2 separate regions of the Homo sapiens genome follow, and region 2 is linked to region 1. Evidence: promoter capture Hi-C in human tissues and cell types (Jung and others, 2019). All regions are on one chromosome and are shown on one strand. Each heading gives the region's core, a stretch centred on a gene start or on the middle of the fragment in contact. The rest is flanking DNA. Distances are from core to core; before and after follow the strand shown. Region 1 holds the start of SGPP2 (sphingosine-1-phosphate phosphatase 2). Region 2 overlaps LOC105373907 (a long non-coding RNA gene).

What was found. Contacts are between HindIII fragments. The study calls those that stand out against the background at their distance.
Region 2: a contact is called between a fragment that was not itself captured here and the fragment with the promoter of SGPP2 in region 1, in 1 of the 25 tissues and cell types used here (adrenal gland).

The regions. Positions count from the first base shown.
Region 1 is chr2:222,420,223-222,427,935 of GRCh38, reverse strand. SGPP2 (sphingosine-1-phosphate phosphatase 2) reads right to left here and starts at 3,393. Exons shown (of 5, transcript NM_152386.4): 1 at 3,115-3,393. The coding sequence starts at 3,333. RefSeq lists enhancers at 182-251, 2,400-2,459, 2,510-2,659, 3,850-4,149 and silencers at 2,960-3,009, 3,020-3,249, 3,340-3,689. The HindIII fragment of the contact is 9,125 bases long and covers 169-7,713 here.
Region 2 is chr2:223,503,173-223,510,885 of GRCh38, reverse strand. It overlaps LOC105373907 (a long non-coding RNA gene), which reads right to left. Exons shown (of 5, transcript NR_187973.1): 3 at 5,329-5,410. Among named protein-coding and RNA genes, the nearest start is that of SCG2, 95 kb to the left of the region's middle. The HindIII fragment of the contact is 5,716 bases long and covers 765-6,480 here.

The DNA.
Region 1 (7,713 bases), core at 2,144-4,643:
GTCCAATTTATTCAATGACAGGCTTGTACAAGCCAAGCCCACTCCTGGTTTGTAAAAGATGCAGTTAATCTTTAAGCTAGCAGCGTGTGGTGTAATGAGAACTTGTAGAGGAAACTTTTAGTCACTTGAAAACAGGAAACACTTGTCCTGTTTCAAAATTAAAACAAATATAGACAATGTGAAAGGTGAGAAGGTAAATCAGATTCATTAAGATCTAAAGTCACTCAAATGAAGAAGAAAACTTCTCTATTGTTTGAAGGGTCCTAAATCAACGTCCTGGTGCTACCTTCTAGGCTATGCGGAAAAATCACTTGATTTTCAACATTCACTCATTTTTTTTTAAAGAAAAACGAAACATCGCCAGTCACAGTGACTGACGTCTATAATTTCAGCACTTTGCAAGGCTGAGGCAGAAGGATCACTTGAGGCCAAGAGTTTAAGACTAGTCTTGGCAACATAGTGAGACCCTGTCTCTACAAAAAACAACAATAACAACAACAACAACAACAACAAACCAGATGATGGCATGCATCCGTAGTCTTAGCTACACAGGAGGCTGAGGCAGGAGAACTGCAGGAGTCCAGGATGTGGAAGATGCAGTGACTTATGATTGTGCCACTGCACTCCACCCTGGGTGACACAGCAAGACCCTGTCTCTTAAAAAAAAAGTTTAAAACTATAATTTTATATTGCAATCTACATGCATGTATTCACAAAAGTCACTAGTCCCTCCTACGTGCCAGGCTATGAGAAAAAAATAAGGACCATAACAGAAAAGTTGCCTGCATTCTTAGAGTTTATCATCCTCTGGAGGGGCGGGGAATAATCAGATATCCACACAAAGGCACATTTAAACAACGTGATAAATGCTGTAATGAAGAAATGCAGAAAGCAAAGAAAAACTATAGCAGGGGGAGCTAGGCTGGAAGGTCAGAGAAGTCACCCATGGAGGAACTGACCTTTGGAAATAGAAGGATGAGTGGGGAGGATATTTAGAGAAAAGACAGGCAGCTCAGGCAGGCCAACGCCTGTACAAAGGCCTGCAGAGAGGGCAGCACACTTTTCACAACTGCCCCCTTAAAGTCCTGTAAATTGCCTGAGTGTAGATAAGAGATAATTTTTGAGGGGGGGAATCAATGTGTGTATGTAAAGGATTAATCTTCCCAAGTCATTTGAAACCAACCCACCTGTAAAAACATTAATTAACCTTTCATTTATCAAGCACTCTCAAGTTTATGATTTCCCCCATTATATACCAACACAATGATTTCTTATCTTGGGCATTCAGCTTTCTTGCTTTTACATGATCTGTAAGCAGAAGTCCTGTGTTGGCTGGGTGGGTGTGGGGAAACCGCCACAATTTCACTCACTGAAGACCCACCAGGATTGTCAAGCAGTAAGAAGATAAAACTGTGTAAGAAATCTGCTTAGCTTGCTTTTAAAGGTCAAGAGGATCCAACTGTGGAGTTTAAAGTTAAGTTACCAGGGGTGATGTTTAAAACAGTTTGAGAAGCACTGGTGGAACAATTCACTCTTTTTCAGCTTCCTGAATTAGAGAAACAGGGTAGAAGCTTGTGAAGAGAGCAACAGAAAGCAACTCACGTGTCTACCTGTGGGTGTAAACAGTGTGTGCACCGAATATGTCACGGCACGTTTCAGCCATGGGACTGTTTTTTGTTTGTTTGTTTGTTTGTTTTGGTCTTTTTTTTTTTTTTTTTTTTTTTTTGAGACGGAGTCTCGCTCAGTCGCCCTGGCTGGAGTGCAGTGGCGTGATCTTGGCTCACTGCAACCTCCGCCTCAAGCTATTCTCCTGTCTTAGCCTCCGGAGTAGCTGGAACTACAGGCCGCACCACCACGCCCAGCTGATTTCTTATCCCCCCTACTCTGCCCCGTTTTTAAGACAAGGCAAGAGAAAAAAGAGGGGTTCTCATACTCATCTATAGGTTACCGGAATGTCACATGGGATAAAGAAGGAACAATAAAGAGGAAAAAATACAGAGGAGGATTTCTCTGGAGTAGAACACACAACCACCCTCACCCTCCCAAACAAATTCTGTAATCCAATGCCTATAATATTCCATTCCACACAGAAGCCAGGTTCTTCGTAATTCCTCAGTTACTACATCTAGAAATTTACACGTAAGTAAAGGCCACCTTTCTTTCACCAAAACCTTCTAGGAAGAACAAAATGTGGCTGTGTACAAGGAATTCGAATTATTAATACGTTTATTTCTGTTCTCCTGCGCCACACTTTTGACTTTGCCGAGGGAAAAGGCAGGTGCTGCCAGTGCTCCCGGTAGACATGCGTCCCCAGAAGCCAAGTGCAGCCCGTCTGGTCCCTGCTGCCTAAAGTCCCTGTGCACTGCGACGACGACGCACGCTGGTTCCCCCCAAGCCGCAGTGGGTTGTATAACCACGCTTTGAACACCTAGCGGGAGCGTAGCGAGCTTCCCTCCCAGAAGCATCTGTTAGAAGTCACTGGTGTCGGTCCATAAAAGACCCACCAGGCAGGAGGGACCCCCAGACTCTGGGGGAGGGCAAGCGAGAGTTGCTGTTAAGACATCATCGCCGGGGGTAGTGCAGGGAGGTTGTAAATCTCTCTAGGAGCTGTGTGAGCCCCAAGTTCTGTGCCCAGAGCTGGCGGTGCAGCGCGGTGAGGAGCGCGCTGAGCCCGGCTGCACCCGCATTTGTGCGCATCAGGGAAGGGGGATGGGCGGAAATGCAAGAATACGGGGGTGGGGGGGAGTCTAAGAACGTCTCCCCGGGGAAGTGCCAAGGACATCCCCGCTCCTCCGTTCCATTACGTAACTCTTACATATTTGCTGGCATCTACGTGAATTTAACTACTTTTGAAAGTGGGAAGTCTCTAAATGGACTGCATTGAAAGCGTCTGGGGATATCTCAATAGACCCGGTTGCCCCTGGCAGCGTTGGAGGGTGGCATCCTGGTTACTGGAAGGCCAGGCCTCCCCGTCCGCTCGCAGCGGCGGGAGCCGGGTCACTGCCGGGGACGGCGCCCTCTCGGCCCGGCCGGCCCCGCGTGGCGGAGTCGCAGGGACCCGCACGTCCGCAGCCGCCCCCTCCCCGTACCCGGCGAACACCTGCCCATGGTTACCTCCGGCGCCGCGGCTCTGCGCAGCCCGTTGGCCGGAGCCTCGCCGCCCTTGCCGTTGGCTGCGGGGAGATGCTCGACCCCGGGGACCCGCGCCGCGCGCTCCGTGGGGTCCGCGCCGTTCTCCCGGGGGCCTTCATCCGGAGCGGGGAAGAGCCCGCAGCGGCGCTGGAAGCGGGCGACGAGCTGGGAATCCTGCAGGCTCCGCAGCAGCTCGGCCATGGTGTGCCCGGGGCCGCGCTCCGCCGCCGCTGCCACGCCGGGCCGGTGCCCTCCGCTGGCACCGCCACTCCCGCCTCGCCCCCGCCGATCCCGCACTCCGGGCGGAGGCCGGGCGGGCGGGGCCCCGGGCCCAGCCAACAGGTGCGCCGCCCGGGTCCTAGCGCCCGCCCAGGTGTCTGCCTCCACCTTGCGCAACGCGTCCCCCTTTCTCTCCGTCCCGGAGGGCTTGGGCGGCCCCGGGCGGCCACGGGGGCAGGACCGCCTGTAACTGGACGGAGGAGTGCCGATCTCCGAACTGCGCCTCTCTTCTCCCGGCGCCCCCAACCCCCCACCCCACCTTCTTCCCCCGGCAGACGTAACACTAATGGGAGCGGCCGAGCGCGCGTGCACCTGCGGCCGCTCCCATTAGCCCATCCTTTTGGGCTCAGGCTGATCCCACAGTGACCTTCCTTGCAACTCTGAGCCCAAGGTGAAGTCGGATTTCCTCCCACGCCAGCTCCCCACAGCCAGCCACGTACTCTCACCTTCCTGCAAGACTAGTTCCCAGTAAATACAGCGAGCCCCCCAGGGAGAATTCCCAAGTTCTTTCCAAACTGCGTGATGCAACGTCTCCCTAGAGGTCCGAACACCCTTGAGCTTGCTCAAGTACCCAGGAGGTTCAAAGTGGGCCCTGAGTCATCTTCCGCGTCGCTGCCCCTGCCCTTCTGATTTGGCAACTGGGGAACATTTTCAGGTGGGTGGGAAGGAAAGTCCCTTCTGGGTTTTCCGCATTGAGAACAAAGATGCTTACCGCTTTCTCCTACTTCTTTCTTTCCGCTCTGCCTCTCTTTAAGCAATGACACTGGGAAAACCCCACCAGACCATTTAGGGAGTTTAAACGAGAAGAGAACAAAGTGCTGGAGGACTGGGGACAGGATTAGGTATCTCATTGCACCTGCACCTGCTTTAGAGCACTCAGCAGAAGATAGCAAAGGAAACATCCTGCAGGCCGGCCTTGGTTTTCCCTCCTCCCTCCTACATTTCCCTCCTGGGCTCAGAGATCCCTTGGGAGGCAACAATCAAATTAGGCCCAGGTGATCAGTCTGCAACAAAAGTGCAATTCAACCCCGTCTTTCGTTTGCAGCAGAAACCTGCATGTTTCCTGATTGTCCATGCAAAGCCTACTAAGAATTTGGTTGCACAAATGATTAATGAACACCTGTCAATGCCTTATTTATTCAGTTGTCCTTTTAGGCCTGAATGTCTTTGGGATGTGACTTTCCAGGATGATGTAGTCCCCTTCATGCCCTAGTTTCTACTTTTCTTGCTTCTCAGTCCTGTCTGGAGAGCAAAGTCAAGGGGACTGAGAGAATGCTGAAGCTCTTAAGGGAAACCATTTTCCTCTTACAGAAGACACGCAGAGTTATTGTCATGTCTGGCGGGATCACACACAGAAATGTCCGGCCCAGGAGGTGGAAGCATCTCTCCACAATGCTTCTGGCTGTCATTTACAGGTGTGAGGCAAAACCCTGTGGTTTGGTTTTAGAAGCTGGAGCTGTGATCGTTGGGGACCTGTTCTGCTTATGTGTTAAAGAAATATGTTTTCCTGTGAAGGCACTTGCATCATGTGTCTCCCGAATTTAGTGCTTCGATTTTTCTTTCTACCAGTTAGGAAAAATAGGCAAAGCAAAACATGGCACACGCAGCATTAAGTTAATTGCCAAAGAATTGTATTTGTAGACAGAGCATTTTATCTCCATGGAGGATCAGTTACTGATTCCAGCTTCTAGTGGCTCACCAAGTCACCTGATGTAAGTCACCATATGTCGCAGTTTATCCCTGTAATGAAATGATAATCCTCACTTCTTGTCTTTCTTATAAGGCTCTTGTAAAAATAACCTTGAGACAAGCTCTATAAGGCCTAGTGAGATCATGATAAGAAGGTGTATTGTGCTGGAGTCATTCAATCTAGGAAGGAATCCTCAAGAGAATTTGGCTCTGAACATCTTGAGTAGGACATCTTGAGCCTCCTGGGCAGTGGTAAAGTCCATTTCCCCAGAACCTTTTTTTTCTAAGGCCCAGTCTGATTATTCTGAACATGAATTTCCCAACCAACCTAACAAAAATCAACATCTTTGAGAAGTGGTAGGACTGAAAGACTGCTGTAATGGTGCAGAGATATCAAATAGTAGCTTGCAGTCATGCAAAAAATTTTTTTTTCTTGATACCAGAGAAACACCCTGTAGTTCTTTGATCACTGAACACTAGTCATACCTGTGGGAAATACATTTCACATCCCGCCCCCCGACCTTTTTTTTTTTTTTTTTTTTTTTTTTTTGCCAGGGCAGAAATCCAGTTATTTGTACTTTGCTCACTTGTATATATGTAACAATTACAAAATGACATATTTAAAAGGAATCAATGATGGATATATTAATACTAGTTCGGATAAAGGTTAAGCTACTATAACAAAGAGACCCCAAAATAGAGTGGCTTAAGGAACACAGACATGTATTTCTCTTTCATAGAATGGTTCTAAGGCAAGCAGTTGAGGTTAGTAGGAAGCTCTGCTCCATGGCCCTACTCCATGACTCTGGTTCTTTTCATCTTATTGCTCCACCATGCCCTGAAACTGAGCCTTAGGTCATCGTCCTCTTTTGCATGGTTGAATCTGGGTTAGGGCTGAACATCTGAAGTTCAGCTCCTGAAAGGGTGAAGAGAGAGAGTGTTCTGAGCAGCAATGTCTTATTAAGCAAGTGAGGCAGAAGTTCACACATCACTTTCACTAACATTCCATCAGTGAGAAACAATTGGAAATGTTATCTCTAGCAGGGCAACCTTATGTCAAGCTTAAGCTATATTCCTGTGGAAGAAGTGGAGGACAGAATTTTTTTGTGGGCAACCAGCAGTCTCCACCAGTATTAGGAAACTAATGTTGGTTAAAATGTTGTACAGTAAAAATCCATGTTATAATTCAGCCATAATCTACACATTTTATCTAGGCAGCTTGTCATTCACTTGGCATGTTATAAATACTCATGTGCAGATAGAATTTTTTAAAAGAAGCCACACTAAAAATAAGTTATTCCAAAAGACAATTGGCCAGGCATACATGCCTGTAATCCCAGCACGTTGGGAGGCTGAGGCGGAGGATTGCTTGAGGCCAGGAGTTCAAGACCAGCCTGGGCAACACAGGGAGACTCCATTGCTACAAAAAAATTGTAAAAGTTAGTCAGGCATGGTAGCATGAACTTGTAGCCCTAGCTACTCAGGAGGCTGAGGCAGAAGGATTGCTTGAGGCCAGGAGGTTGAGGCTGCAGTGAGCCATGACCACACCACTGCACTCCAGCCTGGATAACAGAGTGAGATCTTATCTCAAAAAAAAAAAAAAATGGGGGCAGGGACACCTGGTAACCTTTAATAAGTTAAAGTAATTTTTTAAGTGTTGTCAAAATACCTTCATTATAAATGAAAAATTTTGGTATTAATTACATTATTGCATTTTAAGTTCTGATTTAGAGTTATTTCTCTGCAAAGCACGTTACTTCCAAATTACAACTAGACTGTTCAGTTTTCAATTGGGCAATGCTTCCTGGATCAAGACAAGTATACAGAATTTGGGTTCTGTATTGATTATCTATTGCTGCATAACAAATTATCACATAAAAATAGTAGCTTAAAACAACAACATTTATCATCTCAAAGTTTTTGCAGAGCAGGAATCCAAGTGGTTTTAGCTGGGTCCCCTGGCTCTGGTTTCTCACAGGGTCACAGTCAAGGTGCTGGTTGAGGCTACATCATCTCAAGGCTCAACTGGAGGTGGATTTGCTTCCAAGATCACTCAGACGATGGTTGGTAGATTCAATTAGCTGCAGACTGTTGGCCACAGGCCATTCCCTCTTTTTCAACACATGGGCCATTTCATAGAATAGCTCATTATACAGCCTCTTCATAGAATAGCTCATTATACAGCCCTTTACTTCACCAAAACAAGCAAATGAGGAAATCAAGACATACAGAGTGTCTGAACAGGACAAAATAGAAGTATTTTATAGCCCAATCTTGGAGGTAACATTCCAATAGTTTTATCCTATTCTACTTCATAGAAGCAAGGCCCTAGATCTAGCCCACACTGAAGGACAGAGGGAGTGAGACAAGAATATGAGTAGTAAATGGTAGGGATTCTTGGGAGCCTTTTCAGAAGCTGCATACTACAAGTTCTTCATGTTTACATTAATTCTCTAATTTCATAGCCACAATATCAATATTTATTGTCCCTAAGAAATACAATGCATAGTCTTGGCCTCAAGGAGCTTCCATCTGTTGCACACATATAAGATGCATACACAGAGAAAAACGCGTGCAATAATATAAAAACAATACTAAAGGGAAAAAAATGGA
Region 2 (7,713 bases), core at 2,373-4,872, 1.1 Mb before region 1:
TACTAGAACACATCAAACACCCTCCCGCCTCAGGGTCCTCTCTCCCTGGAAGACGCCTCTCACAGATAACCACATGGTGCAAACTTTGATTTCTTTCAGATCTTTTCTCCAACATCACCTTGTCCGTGTGGCCTTTCCTGACCACTTTATTTAAAATTACAACCTTCTCCAAGCAGTCCTTGTCCCCAGTCCTGCTTTTCATTTTCTGTAGCACTTATTGTCATTTAAAATGCTGTATTTTACTTATTTGTTCATTGCCTGTCTTTCCCTTCTAGAAGGAAAGCTCATGACAACAGGAAATTTTATCTCTTTTGTATCCCAGGTGTCTAGAACAGTATCTGGCATATACTAAGTGCTCAGTAAGTATTTTTTGAATACATGAAATAATAATATCAATCAATAGTAGATCTTAAGCTCAAGTCCAGTGAATTGTCCAATTTATTGAGCATTTTCCATCAAATAAAGACCAAAAATGTGAGAAATACTTTTGATCGATTCAACATTTTACCTCAGGTCCAAATAATGGATAATGTAAGAGGGAGGAGAGTTATGATCATTTTCTAATAGAGTAGTGGGTATTCAATAAATATTTTCTGGATGACAGCTATGGATGGCAGAGGACATGGTTCCACTGAAATATATATTCTCACGTTGCCCCTAAAATTCAAATAAATTCATTGTAAGTGAAGAGTCTTAGAAGCTGAGCATAAAGGATGTGTGAGGTGTAAGGAGAGGAAGCAGAGGCTAAGCAGCTGGCACCAGATTATGTTTAGTCCTTTTGGCCATGTGAAATATCTGTGATCTTTAACATGAAGTGATTTGGTCAGGTTTGTGCTCCCTGGTGGAAGTGGGGAAGATGGATCAGGAAGCCTGGGCAGCAATGGCTAGGTCAATCAGTTGATGGTCATATTTCAGGTTAGACGTGATGAGGACCCGAATAAGGCATTGATAGTGTGATGGAGGGGAAGGTGCAGAAATTTCAATATTCATCAAGTCAAACCTTCATACACTTCCGGTGGGGTTGTAAAATGGCACGGCAACTTTGGAAAACTGTTTGGCAGTTTCTCAAATATTAAACTTGGAGTACCCTGTGATCCAGAAATCTGACTCCTTAAGTATCTACCCAATAGAATTGAAAACACATCCATACAAAAACATGCATATGAACGTTTATAACAGCAGTATTCATAATAGCCCAAAGTGGAAACAACCTAAATGTCCATTGGAAGGATAAACACAATATGGTATATCCTCCTTATAGTGGAATATTATCAGCCATAAAAAGGGATAAAGAGCTGATACATGTTATTATGTGGATGAACCTTGAAAACATTATGCTAAGTGAGAGAAGCCAGTCACAACAGACCACACATTGTATGATTTCATTTATATGAATTATTCAGAATAGCCAAATCCTGGAGACAAAAAGTCAATTGATAGGCACTTGGGAGAGGTACAGGGACTGACTGTTAATGGGTACAGGATTTGTTTTTGGGGTAATGAAGAAAATGTTCTGGAAATAGAGAGTGGTGATGGTTTCACAACTCTGTGAATATAATAAGAGCCACTTGACTACATTTTAAAAGGGTGATTTTTGTGGTATATGAATTATGTATCTATAATGCCATTATTTTAAAAAAGGACATTCAGCAAGTAAAATGGACAGATCTTAGTGACCTCTGGTTGTGGAGGAGGAAGGCAAAGGTAGAGTAGAAGAAACTCGAGCCTTTCAGTTTATATAGCTGATGAGCAGATGATGCTCCTTTCCCAAAGAAAGCATTTTTAGGAAAAATTGGGGGGATAGGTAGGGAGATGTTAAGAAATAAATAGGAGGCTGGACAAGCGGTGCCCAGGGAGTGAACCAATGGATGGAGTAAAAAGTAAAGATTTTTTTGTTTTGTTTTTTAGAAAAACATTTAAAAAATATTTCTGGGGAAGGAGAAGTGATGGAAAGAGTACACTGCTCTTTAAAAATATAACCAAATAAATCAAATTTGATTAAGATGACAAGTATAAATTGGTCAACCAAGAAATACTAAGAAGTAACAAAAAAAAAGTCATTTGGAAAGAATAGGTTAGAAATGGCACAACTTTAACAAAGAGATTTATTTTGGCCCATGAAATTTAGTTCATATTTTACCACATTCCACTGGATAAACTGCATGGCCAAAATGAAAAAAAAAGTTAAAGTCAAATCTGATCTTTAGAGACTTTATGGGTTTAGAGGTCCAGAAGAAACATTCTCAGACATAAACATGCAGATCTTATTTCGTGCCAATTCTGTCAACTTTAGAATCTGATAAGAGCATGAATACTTAGAATAAAACTGACTTTCTTCATAGGCTGCACAATTACCAGCACTGGCTTCTCCTGACCCAGCTCGCTACCGTTTTCACTGGTGCAGGGACAAAGTAAAAGGGTTGGATCTCAGGCCTGTCTCCACATCTAAGCTCTGAGGCTAAGCCTTCCTCCCTAGGACTCCTCCATGTTGCCATGGTATCTTTGAGTCACCAATACCACATCTCTAACCTTTATGGCACAGGATAGTTTGAGTTAGAAGGAGTTGGAGATGAAATTCCTGTTTTTATGCAGGATACTGTGTCCCCTTCCAATCAGGTGAGCTCATTCATGCATTAAAGGCCAACCCCAAAGAAGTGTGGGAGAACCATGTGACTTCAAACCATTGCTCTATGCACTGAAGCCTATGTTTAAAGTCATATTAATAGTTATCAGTATTTGGATATCCACTAGGTGCCAAATTGAATATAAAAAACCAAAGCTTAGTTATTCAGATGGAATAAGCCACATGGCTGGTAAAAGGTAGAATCAGGATTGGGCATAGGGCCACCCATACCTAAATCACACTTTTTTTTTTTTCACTGCATTAGGTATTTTCCCAATCCCCATCATTAATAGCAAACATTATCAGTTTCCCCTGTGCATTTTTTCCTGAACATTATCCCAAGGCTTGGATATCATAATACTCAGAGTCCCATAGCTCTCTGCAGCTCTCGGAAACACCGTATTGGTCCCAGAGCCCATCAGCAATGCTGCCTTTAAGCACCGTGTCATCTAAACCATTTTATATATATATAATACTTTAAGTTCTAGGGTACATGTGCACAACGTGCAGGTTTGTTACATAGGTATACAACCATTTTAAATAGACAGGATTATATCCTGATATCAATTCCATCCATCTTTTGAGAAATTGCTTCCTTTTCTTTCCAAACTGCCCTTTGGCAGCCCAGCCTTGCATAGCTAACACCCCTCCTGTTTGGTAGAGCCACACTCACATTTCATTTAGGAATTACTTTATTCAGAAGTATTTAAGCTCAACTTTCTGACTTTGGAGACATGAAGCACAAAGAAGAAAACTTGAAGCAATACCTGATTAACGCTGAATAATTCAGAATTAATCAACGTGTATTCTAAGCTGAATGCCTAAGCTAACACATTCAGAATATGAGCCATCTGATCACTCAGAAAAAAAGAAGAGAAACTGAAGTTCAAACAGATTTAGAATCAACATTTTAATTGTAGCAACACTTCATAGTCTTCTCATTTTCTTTGTTTCTACAAATGTATTTTCTCCCCTGATCCTTATATTTTATTTTATTTTTCTCTATGATAGTATTTATTTTAAGCTGTACTATCATGTTGTTACTCCTCAGTTCTCCACAGCAACAGAGAGGTATCTGGCAGCATGAGCCAACAGAGTTATAGGCAGGGCCAGAGGTAGAGTGAGCAGCCATTACTAAGAACAAGAGGTTTTGTGGAAGAAAATGCAGCTCTAGAAATTGATGAAAACTCAGAAAGCAACAGGTGATGTCATCCCATAAAAGTCAAGGCCTTGTGGGATACAAAGAAGTACTATCAGGCAAGCAATAGTCATAAAAATAATTGCATTATTTACTTATTTTTTAAAAATAATGACAAAGAGGACTAATTTATAACCCACCAACGTATTATGTAATGTCCTCTTTATCACATTAATCTTCATTCTAGAATCCTCTCACCTCCTACATCTGTAGCCACATCTTTTTTCTCTCCATTAATTCTCAGGTCTTCCTCTCTGCCCACCCACGAACACTCAAAAGTTCTTGTTAAATGATACTTTCTTTTTATTTTTCTCCCCTTCCCTCTTCCTTTTTGAATCCTTTCTTTCTCCCATCCTTTCCTATTTCCACAAATTTACATCACATATTTACTACAGAGAACAACTGTACTTATGCGGGTTATGAGAGTGAAGTACTTATGCCATGGGGGCTGCCAAGGTTGGAGATGTCTCATATAATTAGGTCTGCTTTTCCCCATGGTCCTTCCTTCTAGTGGGCAACACTTTGTCCTCAGAGTATCAACAACTCAAGCGATTCTAAAAAAAACCTCTTTTGATGCCTGTTTATGCTCTAAAGAAATGAAGAGCTCAATGTTCCTCTACTCACGTGATTGCCTGAAATCGTAGCTTATTTATCCAGTTTGAAGCAGTGCTGGACCTTCGGTGAGAAGAGAGACGTAGCTGAACATGTTTATAGAAGTGGAAGCCCTTCCTACATTTTTCAGAAACCCAACTTACCCATATCTCATCTGCAAAAACCCAGTGATTAGGTGAGTTGAGATTTAAGTCAGAAGTTCAATGTGTTAATCCATTTTGTGTTGCTATAGAAAAATACCTGAGACTGGGTAGTTGGCTCATGGTTCTGCAGACTGTACAAGCATGGCACCAGCATCTGCTCAGCTTCCAGTGAGGCCTCAGGAAGCTTCCAATCATGGTGGAAGGTAAAGGGGGAAGATGGTGAGAGAAGGAGCAAGAGGAGAAGGCGCCACGCTCTTTAAACAACCAGCTCTCACACGAACTAATAGAGTGAGAATTCACTCATTGCTGTGAGAATAGCATGAGGGATCTGCCTCCATCACCCCCACCTTCCACTATTGCCCTACTCCAACACGGGGGTAAAAATTTCAATATGAGACTTGGAGGGAACACACATCCAAACCATATCTTTCAATGAAGTCTTTGATCCTAGCTATGAGCCCCTCATTCTCCAGCATGCTAAAATATTCAGAAATTAATTTAAAAATATTTCACATATGTTAAAATAAGGTCATAAAAACTGGATGAGCATGACTGGGAACTTACTAAGCAATTGTGATCAGGCCCTAAGGCAAGTATAGTAAAATCAGTTATTGGGGAGTAGATTAGTTACCTGTTAGCTGTGCGAACTTGGGCAAACAACTCAGTTTCTTCAGCTTTAAAATGAGGGATTATGTAATCTAATCTCTATTAATCTTTTCAGCTCTAACACTTCAAGATGTTAAGTTACCTACCTGGATTGTTTTCATGTCTCATTTTCATGTCATCTCATAAACTTCTAAAGTTGTCCTACTTTCTCCTCTATATAGTTTTGGTCTGAAGAGACAAAGAGAATGTAATCCACATTTATTATGCCAGAGGAGACTGCAAGATTAATAGTATCTTCTCTAATTACTTTAATTAATACTATCATCTGTAATTACTTTAATTAATACTATCATCTCTAATTACTTTAACAAATGTTGTTTATTTCTCCTATTTTTCTGGACTACCTCTAGCTTTTTATATTTCTCATACCATTTAATTTTAAAGCACCCGACATTTTCTAAACCTTGAAGGTTATATTTTCCCTCTATGTGCATCTTGAAGAATTGTCTTTGTTTGCATTATGTATTTATGCTGTTTAGTTAAAAGCATTAGCTACTGTCTTAACTTGTATTCATGAGGCCTTTTTCAAAAAGAGTCTTGACTTTGTAGTTGGTGGACTGATAGATGTGGTTGCTAAAACGCTGACGTTCTAAAAATAAATCTTAGTTAAATTTACAATACAATTACATAACACCAAAAGGGAGAGTTCCAGAGGTATCCATTGAAAAGGTGTTTTTACCTTAGTTAATGATACTATGTTATTGGATTAATGCACTGAATTACTGAAGCTGTCCTCCTCTCCACCCTCTCCAATGTGGGGAAGTACTTTATGAAAAGTTGTCTGTCACACTTGACAAAACTAAAGCAAGAGCAATGATATGCAAATAATTTATTATCTATATTCTTAAAGAATTGTTAATTTTCACCTAATAGTAGGAAAATTAAGGATCTCTCAGATTTTCCAGTCATATGGGTTGAATTAGCATGAACCACACACACATGAATGTTTTGGTCTGGCCAGCAATTCCATTTACATGAAATCTTGCTTCACATTAGACAACAGAATGAAATAAGATGCCAGAAAAATAGAAATTATATATATATTTTAATTTTTATTTATTTATTTATTTTTATTATACTTTAAGTTCTAGGGTACATGTGCACAACATGCAGGTTTGTTACATAGGTATACATGTGCCATGTTGGTTTGCTGCACCCATCAACTCGTCATTTATACTAGGTATTTCTCCTAATGCTATCCCTCCCCCAGTCCGCCACCCCCCGACCGGCCCCTGTGTATGATGTTCCCCGCCCTGTGTCCATGTGTTGTCATTGTTCAACTCCCACCTATGAGTGAGAACATGTGGTGTTTGGTTTTCTGTCTTTGTGATAGTTTGCTTAGAATGATGGTTTCCAGCTTCATCCATTTTAAGGCTATGAGGGTCCCAGCCAATTTGCAAAATGAACTTTGATTCTCTCTGATTTTGATGGGGCCTTCTTCAGCCTTCTTCTTGCTAACATAGGAATGATGTTGGCTACCCGTGGTAGATTGCACATTTGGACCACTAATCCTTCCTTTGGCTCTCTCCTCATCATTTGTGACATGACTTTGCAGCTCCTCCCATCAAGTGTTGGAGTCTATTTTTCCAGTCCCGGAGTCTGCACTGGTCTTGTGACTTGCTTTGATCCAAGAAATGCTGTGGAAGCATTCCAGTGCCCATCCTAGAACCGAAAATATTTTGCAGGCCTCTACTTGCTCTTGGCTCCCTGTATGCATCATTTGAACAAACTCAGGCCAGCCTGCTGTATGATAAGAGCTCATATGGAGAAGTCAGCCGAATTGTTCCAGCCAAGCCTCCAGAAATGTGACCTAAGGCAGCCAAGAATGCCCCAAACTAGCCCAGATCAGAAGAATCACCCAGCTGAGCCCAATCTACTTTGTCACCCAAAAGATGTATAAGCTGGGCTAATGGTTGTTGCTTCATGCTTGTAAGTTTTGGGGAGGTTTTTTTTTAAGCAGCAGGAGATAAGTGACATACTATCCAAATTGCTTCACTGAGATGTTCTCTCATAATTTTCACCTAAAATTTCCCACGTTATAAACTTGTAGTTCATATTCCTTAACAATCCAAACTCTCCAAACGGCTTCATTTAAACAAACTGAACAGGTAAAGTACGTTCTGAATAGATGTGAATGATTCTCCTAGAGATAAGTTGCATTAAAAACGGAAACCACCCAAATTAGGAATTTGGGAATGATACCTGATTGTTCCTCCTTACCCCAAAACACTTCCAGGTTGGACAATGACAAGTAGTGAATGGAAATATTGGCCTCTTTGTCACCCCAGTTTTAATTTCTCTTAACATAGAGTTTCAGTAGGGAAGGTAGGAAATATTTATTTTTAACATTTAATTACCTCCTTCACACCTTTTGGAATTGAAGCATCCTCTTTTGGTGCATTAGTTTTTAATAAAATTATTCTTAATCTTTATTGAAAAAGAGTAATATATGCTCCCCCAAGAAAAGATAA